4 separate regions of the Homo sapiens genome follow, and all the other regions are linked to region 4. The links are contacts of gene promoters, found by promoter capture Hi-C in blood cells and fetal thymus (Javierre and others, 2016). All regions are on one chromosome and are shown on one strand. The core of a region is centred on a gene start or on the middle of the fragment in contact, and the rest is flanking DNA. Distances in the headings are between cores, read along the strand shown. Region 1 overlaps ARMC6 (armadillo repeat containing 6). Region 2 holds the start of PBX4 (PBX homeobox 4). Region 3 overlaps SUGP2 (SURP and G-patch domain containing 2). Region 4 holds the start of SUGP1 (SURP and G-patch domain containing 1).

What was found. Contacts are between HindIII fragments. The CHiCAGO score rates a contact against its expected background, and 5 or more counts as called.
Region 1: a contact is called between a fragment that was not itself captured here and the fragment with the promoter of SUGP1 in region 4, in 1 of 17 cell types (M1 macrophages). The highest score is 5.6, in M1 macrophages.
Region 2: the fragment with the promoter of PBX4 here is called in contact with the fragment with the promoter of SUGP1 in region 4 in 2 of 17 cell types (neutrophils and M1 macrophages); the score reaches 8.4 in neutrophils.
Region 3: a contact is called between a fragment that was not itself captured here and the fragment with the promoter of SUGP1 in region 4, in 1 of 17 cell types (M2 macrophages). The highest score is 5.8, in M2 macrophages.

The regions. Positions count from the first base shown.
Region 1 is chr19:19,046,799-19,050,229 of GRCh38, reverse strand. The region is part of intron 4 of ARMC6 (armadillo repeat containing 6); the gene reads right to left. Among named protein-coding and RNA genes, the nearest start is that of ARMC6, 15 kb to the right of the region's middle. The HindIII fragment of the contact is 8,485 bases long and covers 1-3,431 here.
Region 2 is chr19:19,617,184-19,620,813 of GRCh38, reverse strand. It overlaps PBX4 (PBX homeobox 4), which reads left to right and starts at 2,127. Exons shown (of 8, transcript NM_025245.3): 1 at 2,127-2,303. The coding sequence starts at 2,185. RefSeq lists a silencer at 2,136-2,345. The HindIII fragment of the contact is 7,939 bases long and covers 168-3,630 here.
Region 3 is chr19:19,028,660-19,032,318 of GRCh38, reverse strand. SUGP2 (SURP and G-patch domain containing 2) reads left to right here. Exons shown (of 11, transcript NM_001017392.5): 2 at 1,237-1,368. The coding sequence starts at 1,248. Among named protein-coding and RNA genes, the nearest start is that of SUGP2, 3.0 kb to the left of the region's middle. RefSeq lists an enhancer at 1-70. The HindIII fragment of the contact is 6,110 bases long and covers 1-3,659 here.
Region 4 is chr19:19,318,507-19,321,758 of GRCh38, reverse strand. It overlaps SUGP1 (SURP and G-patch domain containing 1), which reads left to right and starts at 1,250. Exons shown (of 14, transcript NM_172231.4): 1 at 1,250-1,296. The coding sequence starts at 1,263. It overlaps MAU2 (MAU2 sister chromatid cohesion factor), which reads right to left and starts at 930. Exons shown (of 19, transcript NM_015329.4): 1 at 624-930. The coding sequence starts at 899. RefSeq lists a silencer at 550-771 and enhancers at 143-1,114, 823-1,312, 1,333-1,382. The HindIII fragment of the contact is 18,112 bases long and covers 1-3,252 here.

The sequences.
Region 1 (3,431 bases), core at 541-3,040, 270 kb after region 4:
CATTGCACTCCAGCCTGGGCGACAGAGAGAGACTCTGTCTCCAAAAAGAAAAACAAACAAACAAAAAAACACTACAATGACAACAAAGAAATTCAGGCACATAGTATGCTATGGATATACCTTGAGGACATTACGCTAAGTGAAATAAGACAGTCACCAAAAGACAAATACTGTGATTCCATTTATTTAAAAAAAATTTTTTTTTTTAGATGGAGTCTTCCTCTGTCACCCAGGCTGGAGTGGAGTGGTACCATCTCAGCTCACTGCAACCTCCACCTCCTGGGTTCAAACAATCCTCCCGCTTCAGCCTCCTGAGCAGCTGGGACTACAGGCATGTGCCACCACGCCCGGATAATTTTTGTATTTTTAGTGGAGACAGGGTTTCACCATGTTGGCCAGGCTGGTCTCTAACTCCTGACCTCAAAGTGATCTGCCCACCTCAGCCTCCCAAAATGCTGGGATTACAGGCATAAGCCAGGGTGGCCAGCCTGTGATTCCATTTATATGAGGTCCTGGAGTAGTCAAATTTGCAGCAACAGAAGGTAGAATGATGGTTGCTAGAGGCTGAGGGGAAGAGGAACATGGAGTTTGTTTCAGTATCGCAAGTCATGGATAGTCATGATGGTTGCACAACATTATGAATGTACTTAATGACACTGAACTCTACATTTAAAAATGGTTACAATGGTAAATGTTTTTATGCACATTTTACATAACAAACAGCGGTGTAGCACTTCAGCAGAAACCCTGTAAGAAACTTGAAAAGCTCCTGACAGAAATGCCTTTGAGGATGCACAGTATTGGAGTTAGAACTACCAAGATTTCACAAGGAATTACTAAGTTAGCAAGGATGTGTAAACTAAAAATAAAATTCTTGGCCGGGCATGGTGGCTCATGCCTGTAATCTCTTCACTTTGGGAGGCCAAGGCAGGTGTATCGCTTTGAGCTCAGGAGTTCAAGACCAGCCTGGGCAACGTGGTAAAACCCTGTCTCTAAAAAAAATACAAAAATTAGCCAGATGTTGGTGGCTCACACCATGTAGTCAGCTACATGGGAGGCTGAGGCTGAAGAATTGCTTGAGCCCGGGAAGCAGAGGTTTCAGTGAGCTAAGATCACACCACTGCACTCTAGCTGGGGAGACCCTGTCTCAAAAAAAAAAAAAAAAAAAAATCTAAGTCCTCATCCATACTAAGGACCCCTCCTCTTGGCCAAAGGTATTCCAAAGGTAACCTGAAAAACTACTTCAGGTCATGATGGGAAGTGGCGGTCAAATATGTCTCATTTTATCTTCCTGCCTTTGGAAGTCAGACATAACTGATCATCGTAAGACTTTTTTGTAGCAATAAGACACCAAGTTCCAGCCTAACTAATACAGTATGGAAAGAAATCAAAGTATTTTACCCTAAAATATATTTCTCTGACATATTTTGAAATGGCCCTGCAAAGCTATCTCTTGTGGGGAAAAGCTACATTCTACAGAGATTCCCTTTCCAGGTCTTTTCCCTGATTCAGGAGAGAATTAACTAAGAGTCTGGCACCTTTTTAAGTCTGATAAGAAATATTTACAATCTATTTTCTCTGAAGCCTGCTACCTGGAGGCTTCCTTGATAAACCCTTGATCTCCACAACCCGTCTTAAGCAAAATATTCCTTTCTATTGATTCTAGGTCTTTAGATAACTCTTTCAATCAGAAAATCTTTTTTTTTTTTTTCTGAGTCTCATTCTGTTGCCCAGGCTGGAGTACAGTGGCATGATCTCGGCTTACTGCAACCTCCGCCTCCTGGATTCAAGTGATTCTCCCGCCTTAGCCTCCCAAGTAGCTGGGATTATAAGCACCCACTACCATGCCCAGCTAATTTTTGTTTTTTGTTTTTTGTTTTTTTGAGATGCAATTTCGCTCTTGTTACCAAGGCTGGAGTGCAATGGTGCAATCTTGGCTCACTGCAACCTCTGCCTCCCGGGTTCAAGCAATTCTCCTACCTCAGCCTCCTGAGTAGCTGGAGTTACAGGCACCTGCCACCATGCCCGGTTAATTTTTGTATTTTTAGTAGAGACGGGGTTTCATCATGTTGGCCAGGCTGGTCTCGAACACCTGACCTCAGGTGATCCACCTGCCTGGGCTCCCAAAGTGCTGGGATTACAGGTGTGAGCCACCACACGTGGCCTAATTTTTGTATTTTTTGTAGAGATGGGTTTTGCCATGTTGGCCAGGCTGGTCCCAAACTCCTCAGCTCGATGCAATCCGACCACCTCAGCCTCCCAAAATGCTGAAATTACAGACGTGAGCCACAGCACCTGGCCAGAAAAATCTTTAAATGTGTCTATGACCTGGAAGCCCCGGCTTTCAGCTGCCCTACTTTTCCAGACCACACCAATGTACGTCTCACATGTATTGATTGATATCTCATGTCTCCCTAAAACGTATAAAACCAAGCTGTAGCCCGACCACCTTGGACACATGTTCTCAGGAGCTCCCGAGGCTGTGTCATGGGCCTTTGGTCACTCATATTTGGTTCCGAATAAATCTCTTGAAATATTTTATAGAGTATTTTCATTGACAGATGGTTGCTAAAATGCAGGTGGCAGAGCCAGCTGTGTTCTACCTATGACAATTTTCTGTGGCGCTCACCACCTTGCTCATGGAGGGGGGCTTTACCCATTGACTCCTGGAGTCATTCAGTCTCTGTGACTAATGCCTTTCATTCTACAACTTCCCACATATAAATGTGGCCTGGCTGGCTCAGTTTTTCCCTGGACAGTCTCCAGACATTATTTTCCTTCTGTTTCTACAAGCCTGTTTGCAACAAATCTTATGACACAAACAGATTAATTTCAACGACCATCACAATGTTGAATTTTTTTCTCCCTCAACAGATAAGCATTTTTTACACATCTAAGCCAAGATGCACAAAGGTCAATTATGCTGCAGGGCATTTGAGAAGGGGGTTGGTTCAGTTGCGAACTGACCGCTGAGATGCAAACCCCAGTGTCTGGTGGGAGGGACAAGGCAGGGACTTTCAGATTTTACTATAAATGCTTGAGTATTGCTTGAATCCTTTATGCTAAGAATGTATTTCCACTCTTCCTTAATGAAAAATAAAATTTAAAATTAGCCAGGCATGGTGGCAGGTACCTGTAATCCCAGCTACTCAGGAGGCTGAGACAGGAGCATCACTTGAACCTGGGAGGTGGAGGTTGCAATGAGCCGAGATCCTGCCATTGCACTCTAGCATGGGTGACAGAGTGAGAGTTTGTGTCAAAAAAAAAAAAAAAAGAAATAGAAAAAGAAAAAAAAAAAAAAACAGGTGAGCATGTTGGCTCACACCTGTAATCCTGGCATGTTGGCAGGGCAAAGTGGGAGGGTCACTTGAGGGCAGGTGTTCAAGATCATCCTGGGCAATATAGCAAGATCCCATCTCTACAAAACAAAA
Region 2 (3,630 bases), core at 878-3,377, 300 kb before region 4:
AAAAAAAAAGGCAACTCTGTCTCAGGCGCTCTGAGCTGGCTGTTCACATCAGCTCCTCCAGGTTTTAACCTGCACCCCGTGGGTCTCCTTCGAGACCATTTCCTCTTGTCGATCTCCCGTCTCCACCAAGTGGCTTCAAATTTTTGTCTCTGCTGGTCCCTGAAGCTTTCAGTGCCCACCCCTCCAAGTTCTCTGAAGGATACTACTTTGTTGGGGTTGGGGGCAGGTTTTGCTCTCTCACCCAGGCTGGAGTGCAGTGGCACAAACACAGCTCACTGTAGCCTCGACCTCCTGAGCCCAACTTATCCTCCCGCCTCAGCCTCCCAAGTAGCTGGGACCATGACCAGCTAATTTAGCTATTTTTTTAATTTTTATTTTTGTAGAGATGGGGTCTCACTATGTTCCCCAGACTGGTCTTGAACTCCTGGGCTCAAGTAATCTCCCACCTCAGACTCCCAAAGTGTTGGGATCATAGGTGTCAGCCACTGCACCCAGCCTGAAGGCCACTACTGTTCAGGCCTCCTGGGCAGTGCTGTGCTTGTGGGTGACCTTTTGAACAGGCACTGGTCTCCGTGGCTCCCATGCAATCTATTACTTTCTGTCATTGGAGCCAAGTGTCGGTTTCCTTCATCAGAGAGCTTTCCCTATTGTCCAGACACTCGGTCAATGTCTTTCATTTTTCACTCCCTGCCGTCCCCTTTGGAGTCTCCCGACGCTCTCCAATCCAGCCATACCAGATGGTGTTTGAATTTCCTCCCCAGCAGCAATGGAGAGAACGTGGGCCCCACCCTGGAAGGGCTCCCAGCCAGCAGGCTGAGGACCTTTTACTGAGCCCACATCTGGAGACTGTCCTCATAGCAAATAGGCTCCAGGAGGTTCTGTGACTTTGGAGAAGAGATTCATGTCCAGGCCATTACTTTTTTTTTTTTTTTTTTTTTTTGAGACCTGGTCTCCGTCAACCAGGCTGCAGTGCAGTGGTGCAATCATGGCTCACTGCAGCCTCAAATTCCCAGGCCCAAGTGATCCTCCCACTTCAGCCTCTCAAGTCCCAAATAGCTGGGACCACAGGCGTGCACCACCACGGGGTCTCACTATGTTGCCCAAGCTGGTCTCAAACTCCCGTGCTCAAGTGATCCTCCCGCCTCTGCCGCCCAAAGTGCTAGGATTACAGGCATGAGCCACCGCCCAGTTCCTTTTCTTGTGCACTAGGAGCCTTCGATGCTGTGTCCTAAGGACTAGAAACAAAGATGTGAGGATTCGCTCTGATTTGGGGTACACTGCAGGGGAGTCTCTCAGTAAACATCCTTCCTTCATTCGGTAACCACGTGGTAGCATTTTCTATGCCCAGAACTGTAATCTGCGAAGATGAATAAACAAGCGAGGTCACTCTTCAGCTGGACCTTGAAAGGTGACTGGAATTGATTTCTGCAGTGGAGAAAAGCGCTGCGTTCTGACCTCCTCGTTGCCATCAACCACGCACGCCTGCGCCCCGCCTTAGCCAGGTGAACGGGGCGTGGAAAGCTCTAGAGGAAGAGCCAGGGGCCCCAGTGGCCCACCTGATGGGGCTGAGGATGCAGGGAGCATTAGGGGGACTGAGCAGGGGTCTGGGGCTTGGGGCTTCTGGAAATGAATGGGGGCTGTCGATCAAGCTATAAGAGGTGTGGGGTTCTGAGGAGGAGGGGGTGGCTTGGAGGAAGAGTTGGGGTGCTCTGGGGAGTGAGGGTCTCTGAGGACCGAGGGCTTTGAGGAGAAGGGGGCCCTGAGGAGGAGCAGGAACTCTGAGGAGATGCGAGTGGGGCTGAAGGAGGCGTGCACCGCGCGAGATGTGAGGGATGGGGGCCTCTGGCTGGAGCGGAGCCAGCGCTGCCCTCTCTCAAGGGGAAGGAGGGCGCTTATGAGAAGTGCCGTTGCCTCGGCAACCCCAAACCCAGTCCAAGCCCGGAGAGGGGGAAGTTCGGGGCGAGTCCCGGGGGCGGTGCGTGGCGCCGGTTGGCTGACGGAGATGAAGGGGCGTGTCTGTAGGCGGTGCAATACACGGGTTGGCTGGCGATAGCGGCGGTGGGCGTGGCTTAGGCGCGAGCGAGAGCGGGCGCGGCGCTCAGGCAGCGGCGGTTGGCTGCGGCGCCAGTGGTAGTGCTCCAGGCTCGACGGCACCCTCACAGCGCCCGCCCGGCCCTGCCGCTCATGGCCGCCCCGCCGCGCCCCGCGCCATCGCCCCCCGCCCCGCGGCGCCTCGACACGAGCGACGTCCTGCAGCAGATCATGGCCATCACCGACCAGAGCCTGGACGAGGCACAGGCCAGGTGCTGCCCGCGGGCTCGGCAGGGGCCACGCAGGGTCGTGGCAGTGAGGTTGGCGGGCTGAGGGGACGGGGCGTGGAGGCCAGACTGACGAGGGGCGCTTGAGGAGGGCTGGAGGGGGGTCCCGAGGACGAAGGGATGTATGGGGTTCAAACGGAACGGGCTGGATAGGCCTTATGGGGCCGAGCAGTGGCGTGAAGGATTTTCAGCAGCTCATCTTGGGGCGAGAAGGTTGGGTTTAGGGGTTTAGGGAGTAGGGCTGAGAAATGGGCACGTACGGGACTTTTGACGAGTGAATGACTAAATGGGTACGTTAATGGGACTCCTGCGGCTGGAAGTTTTTTTGTTGTTGTTTGACACGGTCTTGCTCTGTCGCCCAGGCTGGAGTGCAGTGGCGTGATCATGGCTCACTGCAGCATCCACCTCCCCGGCTCAGTTGATTCTCCTGCCTCAGCCTCCCGAGTAGCTGGGACCACAGGCGCACGTGCAACCACGCCCGGCTGATTTTTTTGTATATTTTGTAGAGACAGGGGTCTCGCTATAGTTGCTTAAACTCCTGGGTTCAAGCACTCATTCCGTCTCGGCCTCCCTAAGTGCTGGGATTACAGGCGCGAGCCACCGAGCCCGGCCTGTGGGTGGGAAGTTTCCAGGGCAGATGATGGAGAGTGAGTGGCTGGGAATGGGACTCAGGAATGTCTGCAGGAGACTGAAGAACTGAACTGGGGTAACTTGGTGTGGGAACCATCGAGAACTTTTGGGAAAAGGGTTAGTAGAGGAGTGGGTGGAGATGGAAGACCTATTTTCTTTTTAATGAATTCAGCAAATTTTTATTGAATCCTTACAATAACTGGATAGGGAACCGGGTGCTGACATAGTCCCTGCTCTCGAGTACATGATTTAGGGGAGGGAATGTAAATAGCAAAAAATAAGGACTGGGTGGAGTGGCTCACATCTCTAATCACAGCACTTTAGGAGGCTGAGGCAGGAGGATTGCTTGAGCTCAGGAGTTCGAGACCAACCTGGACAATGTAGTAAGACCTCGTCTCTACTAAAAATAAAATTAAAAAATTAGTTAGGTGTGATGATGCAAGCCTGTAGTCCCAGCTACTTAGGAGGCTGAGGCTGCAGTGAGCCGAATCAAGCCATTGCACTCCAGCCTGGGTGACAGAGCTAGACCCTGTCTCAAACAAAAGCAAAAAAGTATAAGCCAGGCATGGTAGCATGGGTAGGTAATCCCAGCTGCCTCCCAGTGGGAGGATCACTTGAGTCCAGCAGTTTGAGACCAGCCTGGGCAACATAGTGAGACCATCCTGTACCAATCTGAGAAAAG
Region 3 (3,659 bases), core at 1,103-3,602, 290 kb after region 4:
GATGCGGTGGCGGACTCCTGTAATCCCAGCTACTCAGGAGGCTGAGGCAGGAGAATTGCTTGAGTCCAGGAGGCGGAGGTTGCAGTTAGCCGAGATCATGCCACTGCACTCCAGCCTGGGCAACAGGGAGAGTCTCAAAAAAAGGAAGAAAAAAAAAAAAAAGATTGATCTCTTCTTTCCTAACCACGATTTGCGAGGGTTGTGGTCCCACCCTTCCTACTCTGTTATGCTCAGTTATGTGTGTTGGTTGACACCTTCCTCCAGCAGATAGAACTGCTTTCACAGAGCTGCTTTTAATGGATTCCAAGGAGATGGGCCCAGAGAAGGTTTGTCTTGCTCCTTTTCAGCCAGCACACACCTGTGAACTTCGTGAGGGCAGAGACCCCCTTAAAAGAGTCCAGACAAGGTGGGCAGATTGCTTGAGGTCAGGAGTTCGAGACCAGCCTGGCCAACCTAGCAAAACCCTGTCTCTACTTAAAAAAAAAAAAAAAAAAGATAAATAAAAAGGGTCCAGCTTGCCTCTGAAGTACCATGCGAGGATTATGGATTACTGCCTCCTTACTTCGAGGATTAAGTGAAATAGAGCAGGTTCTGTGAGCACGCATTTTTTTTTTCTTTGAGACAGTCTCGCTCTGTCCCCCAGTCTGGAGGGCAGTGGCATGATCTCGGCTCACTGCAACCTCTGTCTCCCTGGTTCAAGCAATTCCCATGCCTCAGCCTCCTGAGTATTTGGGATTACAGGCACGTGCCACCATGCCTGGTGAAATTTTTTTTTTTTTTTTTTTGAGACGGAGTCTCACTCTGTTACCCATGCTGGAGTGCAGTGGCATGATCTCGGCCCACTGCAACCTCCGCCTCCTGGGTTCAAGCAATTCTCTTGCCACAGCCTCCCAAGTAGCTGGGATTAAAGGCAGGCACCACCATGCCCGGCTAATTTTTGTATTTTTAGTAGAGACAGGGTTTTGCCATGTTGGCCAGGCTGGTCTCCAACTCCTGACTTTAAATGATCCGCTCACCTCAGCCTCCCAAAGTCCTGGGATTACAGGTGTGAGCCACCACACCCAGCCTGAATTTTTTGTATTTTAGTTTCATCATGTTGCCTAGGCTGGTCTCGAACTCCTGAGCTCAGGTGATCCGCCCACCTCGACCTCCCAAAGTGCCAGGATTACAGGTATGAGCCACCGCGCCCAGCTCCAAGTTGTTGCTCTTAGTGTATTTTTTTCTCTCTCACCATAGGGCAAAATAACATGGCAGCCAGACGAATTACACAGGAGACTTTTGATGCTGTATTACAAGAAAAAGCCAAACGATATCACATGGATGCCAGTGGTGAGGCTGTAAGCGAAACTCTTCAGTTTAAAGCTCAAGGTAAAATAAAGTGTTGTTGTTGTAGTTGTTGTTTTGGTAGGGGTGTATCTTAGGGCCAAGGCAGGAAGATTACAATACCTTGGGCAAATAATACCAGTCCTCTGATCCTTAGTTTCCTTATTTAGGAGGAGGTAAAGGTTTTTATTTTGGTTTGGTTTCTTTTTTGTGATAGGGTCTTACTCTCTCCCCCAGGCTGAAGTGCAGTGGCGCAGTTTTAGCTCACTGCACCCTTGAACTCCTAGGCTCAAGCCATCCTTCCATCTCTGCCTCCCAGAGTGCTGGGATTATAGGCATGAGCCACTGCACTTGGTCAGGGGATAATGTTTTGATCTGTCAGTCATCATTATGTAGTTATCTGGAGCTTCTCACTGGATATCCTCCCCGACCCACCTCAAGACAGTTTTGTTTATTGTTTGTTTGTTTGTTTGTTTGTTTTGAGACGGAGTTTCACTCTTGTCTCCCAGGCTGGAGGGCAATGGAGGGATCTTGGCTCACTGCAACCTCCGCCTCTTGGCTCACTGCAACCTCCGCCTCCTGGGTTCAAGCGATTCTCCTGCCTCAGCCTCCTGAGTAGCTGGGATTACGGGCATGCACCACCACGCCCAGCTAATTTTTCTATTTGTAGTAGAGATGAGGTTTTACCATGTTGGCCAGGCTGGTCTCGAACTCCCGACCTCAGGTGATCCACTTGCCTTGGCCTCCCAAGATGCTGGGATTACAGGCATGAGCCACCGAGCCCAGCCCAGTTTTGTTTTTTGGTGTTTTTTATGTTTTTGTTTTTTTTGTTTTTTGTTTTTTTTAATAGATATGGAGTCTTGCTATGTTTTCAGGCTGGTCTGCAACTCCTGGGCTCAAGTGATCCTCCCACCTCTGCCTTCAGCATGTTGCGATTACAGGCGTGAGCCACTGCTCCCAGCCCCAAGACAGGTTCTTGGATCCATTTCCTGGCTCCATCCCTGTCACCGCTGCCCAGGTTTAAGCTCTACTAGTTCTTTTTTTTTTTTATTTGAGACAGAGTCTTGTACTGTCGCCCAGGCTGGAGTGCAGTGACGTGATTTTGGCTCACTGCGGCCTGTGCCTCCTGGATTCAAGCGATTCTCCTGCCTCAGCCTCCCGAGTAGCTGAGATTACAGGTGCCTGCCACCATGCCCGGCTAATTTTTTTGTATTTATTTTAGTAAAGATGGGGTTTCACTATGTTGGTCAGGCTGGTTTTGAACTCCTGACCTTGTGATCTGCCCGCCTCGGCCTCCCAGAGTGCTGGGAGGATCACAAGGTCAGGAGATCGAGACCATCCTGTGAATGGTGAAACCCCGTCTTTACTAAAAATCAAAAAAAAAAAAAAATTAGCCAGGTGTGGTTGTGGGTGCCTGTGGTCCCAGCTACTTGGGAGGCTGAGGCGGGATAATGCCGTGAACCCGGGAGGTGGAGCCTGCAGTGAGCCAAGATTGCGCTACTGCACTCCAGCCTGGGCGACAGAGCGAGACTCCATCTCAAAAAAAAAAAAAGAAAAAAAATGGCCGGGCGCAGTGGCTCAAGCCTGTAATCCTAGCACTTTGGGAGGCCGAGGCGGGCGGATCACAAGGTCAGGAGATCGAGACCATCCTGGCTAACACGGTGAAACCCTGTCTCTACTAAAAATATTAGCCGGGCGTGGTGGCGGGCGCCTGTAGTCCCAGCTACTCAGGAGGCTGAGGCAGGAGAATGGCGTGAACCCAGGAGGCGGAGGTTGCAGCGAGCCAAGGTTGTGCCACTGCACTCCAGCCTGGGTGACAGAGCAAGACTCCGTCTCAAAAAAAAAAAAATTTATCTGGGCATGGTGGCATGCGCCTATGGCCCTGGCTACTTGGGAGGCTGAGGCAGGAAGTTCGCTTGTGCCCAGGAAGTCGAGGCTGCAGTAAGCTGTGTTTGTGCCATTATACTCCAGCCTGGGCCAAAGAGTGAGACCCTGTCTCAAAAAAAGACGGCCAGGTGCAGTGGCTTACACATGTAATCTCAGCACTTTGGGAGGCCAAGGTGGGCAGATCACCTGAGGTCAGGAGTTTGAGACCAGTCTGGCCAACATGGTGAAACCCCGTGTCTACTAAAAATACAAAAATGTGGCAGGCCCCTATAATCCCAGCTACCCAGGAGGCTGAGACAGAAGAATAGCTTGAACCCAGGAGGTGGAGGTTGCAGTGAGCCGAGATCGCACCACTGCGCTCCAGCGTGGGTGACAGAACGAGACTCCGTCTCAAAAAAAAAAGACAGATTAGGGGGCCGTGGGTGGGAGAGGACTAGAAACCTAGCAGT
Region 4 (3,252 bases), core at 1-2,500:
AAATGACCAACTCCAGACTCCGGGTCTCAGCTTCCCTCGTACGACACCAGGCATTATTGATGGGGGCACAAGACCCTCCAAAAACCACGATTACCAAACTTCTGTGTCCAAGGAGAATCATGCCCTTCCAGGTTCCTGAGAGACCAGACTTCAGATTCCCGGGAGAATGCCAGGGGTCTCGCCTTCGCCAACCCCTACCCCAAGTCACTTTAGGTGGAAGCGTTTGGGGCTGATGCTCCGGAAGCTGAACCAGGAGGAGCTAATAGCTTCAGGACCCTGTGATGTCCCCATCGCCACCAACAGGTGGGATCCTCCTGAAAACCAGACGATTTGCGGATCCTGTTGCTCCCAATAACAGGCAACTTTCAGAGTACGGTGACGGGGCTCCTGGAGCCCTGTCACCAGAAACGGGAAATAAGGCGTGGGGGGCGAGGCTTTCGTGTCCCTTGAGAGGCTGGTGGCTTTGGGGTCCGGCAGAGGCGGGTGGGGGTCCTGCGGCTTTGACGGAGGTCGCGCCCCCAGGTCGCCGAGGAGCGGCCCCCCACCCGCCGCGGTCGCGACCCGTCAGCCCAGATCTTGCAAGGAGCCCGCGACTCCTCCCTCGCGGCCCGGCCCGCGCTCACCGCCTTCTCCAGGTGGCTGCGCGCCTGCTCGCTGTTCTTGGTGTGGTGATAGAGAACGGAGCCCAGCTGCAGGTGTGTACGGGCCTCGATGCGCTGCGGCGGCTTGAAGGGGAACACGGCCTGCAGGCAGTGCACGCACAGGCGGATTTTGGGCGGGCTGGAAGTGCGGAAGTGCTCAGCGAAGCCCAGAAGCGCCAGGTACCACGAGTCGGCCGCCTCGGCCTGCGCAGCCTGGGCCGCCGCCGCCTGGGCCGCTGCCGCCGCCTGAGCCGCCATTTTGGCCTCCACAACAACAAGCCGCCGCCACAGGGAGGCGGAAGCAGGCGCGCGAGACGGGGCCGGGCTCTCCTCGCGGCTTCCGCGAGATCTGCCGCCCAAAGCATCCTGGAACATGTAGTTTGTATTTGGGATGACTGCCGCTCCGGGAAGGTGTAAAAGGGCGACGCCGTTTGGTTATCGTGACTGGGACTTAGGCATCGCTGATAGGCTGAGGCTTCCGTTTCTGGAGGTTAAAAAAAAAAAAACCCAGTCGTTCACGCAGTAATAGGGCGAGTCTGACCGAGGCGGACTACATCTCCCATCAGGCGATGCACACTATAACAGGGCCCCTTAAGGGGCGCCGGAGCATTGTGGGATTGGATGAGTCTCAAGATGGACAACCGGGATGTTGCAGGTAACAGCCCCCGCCTCCTCTCAGGCGGCCGCCTGGGTCCCTGGGGCTAGGTGTCTCCCCTGACTCCTCGGGTCCGTCCTGCTGCGACCCGTGGATCCCTCGCTTCAGCCCCGGGGCAGCCCACAGCGTCGGCTTCTGCACCTCTTGGTTTCTCGAGACCCCAGACCCAGGTTGCTGGCCGCCCCCGCTTGGTTTGCTGAGGACGCACGGATCTCCGTAGAGGCCGCCACCCGGCTCGGCCCTGCGTCCCGTTTCCGAAACAACCGCCTTCAGGGCTGCTCCAACCTCCGTTCCCCAATACGGCGACAACCTTGGGCTGTCCCTGCACCCCTCTTTTCGTCGCAGCTGGCCTCTGGCCTGTGTCCCGCTTTCTGGAAAAGCTGCTTTTCCGAAGTGCTTTGAGGCTCCCTTGACACACTTTCCCGCGTCTTTTGACCCTCACTTTGCTGCAAGCCTTGGCCTTTCTGCTTCCCCAGAATAGAATGCATTTACCCATCAGCAGATACTTAGGGCGTGCTCACTGTGTGCCAAGCAGTGTGCTGGGCGCTACGCATGCAGCGGTGACCGAAACAGGGCCCTGCCTTCCTGGAGGTTGCTTTCTACTGGGGTGTCAGTGCATTAATGAGAAAATATTTACAAAAACTTACGTATGATGTGAGGTTACGTATGATATGATCAGAGTGGAGGCTTCTGATATTGGGTAGTCAGGAAAGACCTTTTCTTTCTTTCTTTCTTTTTTTTTTTTTTTTTTTTTTTGAGACAGGGTCTCACTTTGTCGCCCAGGCTGTAGTGCAGTGGCTCACTGTGGCTCCCTGGGTTCAGGTGATCCTCCCACCTCAGCCTCCCTAGTAGCTGAGACCACAGATGCGCGCCACCACACAGCGAATTTGTGTGTTTTTTGTGTTGCCACGTTTCCCATGCAGGTCTGGAATTCCTAGGCTCAAGCGATCCTCCCATCTCAGCCTCTTAAAGTGCTGGGGTTACGTAAAGGTGTGAGCCACCACACCTGGCCCAGGGAAAGGCCTTTTCAAGCAGAGGACATTTGAGTTAAGACAATGAATGCCAGCTATGGGAATCCCTGGAGGGTGGAGCCTTCCACACAGAGGGGGGCCAGTAAATGCAGAGGCCCTGGTAGGATGGGCTTGTCCTTTTGAAGAATGTCAAGGATGAAGCAGAAGGGAGGGGAACCATCTGGCGGGGCCTTGAAAATGGCCTTTTAGAATTCTTTTTTTCTTTTTGTTGAAGCGGAGTTTCGCTCTGTCGCCCAGGCTGGAGTGCAGTGGCACGATGTCGGCTGACTGCAACCTCTACCTCCCGGGTTCAAGCCATTCTTCTGCCTCAGCCTCCTGAGTAGCTGGGATTACAGGCGCCGGCCACCGCACCTGGCCAGTGTTTTTGTGTATTTTTAGTAGAGACGGGGTATCACCATGTTGGCCAGGCTGGTCTCGATCTCCTGACCTCAAGTGATCTGCCTGCTTCAGCCTCCCAGGTGCTGGGATTACAGGTGTGAGTCACCATGCCCGGCTCAGACTTTTAAAATTTGGATTTTATTCTGAGTCCCATGGGGAACCTCTGAGGTGTCTTCCCTGTCTCCATACTATCACCCTAGTCTGAAGACATCATTGTCTGTTGCTTGGAGCCAGTGAGCCTCCCTGGTCTTGTTGCCTGTGGATTCTCTGGCCAGAATGATTACCTAGTAGCCAGGATGAAAATAAAACGACCCTGTGGATATTGGCTAGGTGTGGTGATCCATGCCTAAAATCTCAGCATTTTGGGAGGCTTAAATGGGAGGCTCCCTTGAGGACAGGAGTTCAAGATTAGCCTGGGGAACATAGCAAGAACCTGTCTCTACAAAAAATAAAAGAAAATAGCTAGGCCTGGTAGAGTGTGCCTGTAGTCCTAGCCACTCGGGTGGCTGAGGTGGGAGAATCTCTAGAGCCCAGGAGTTTGAGGATG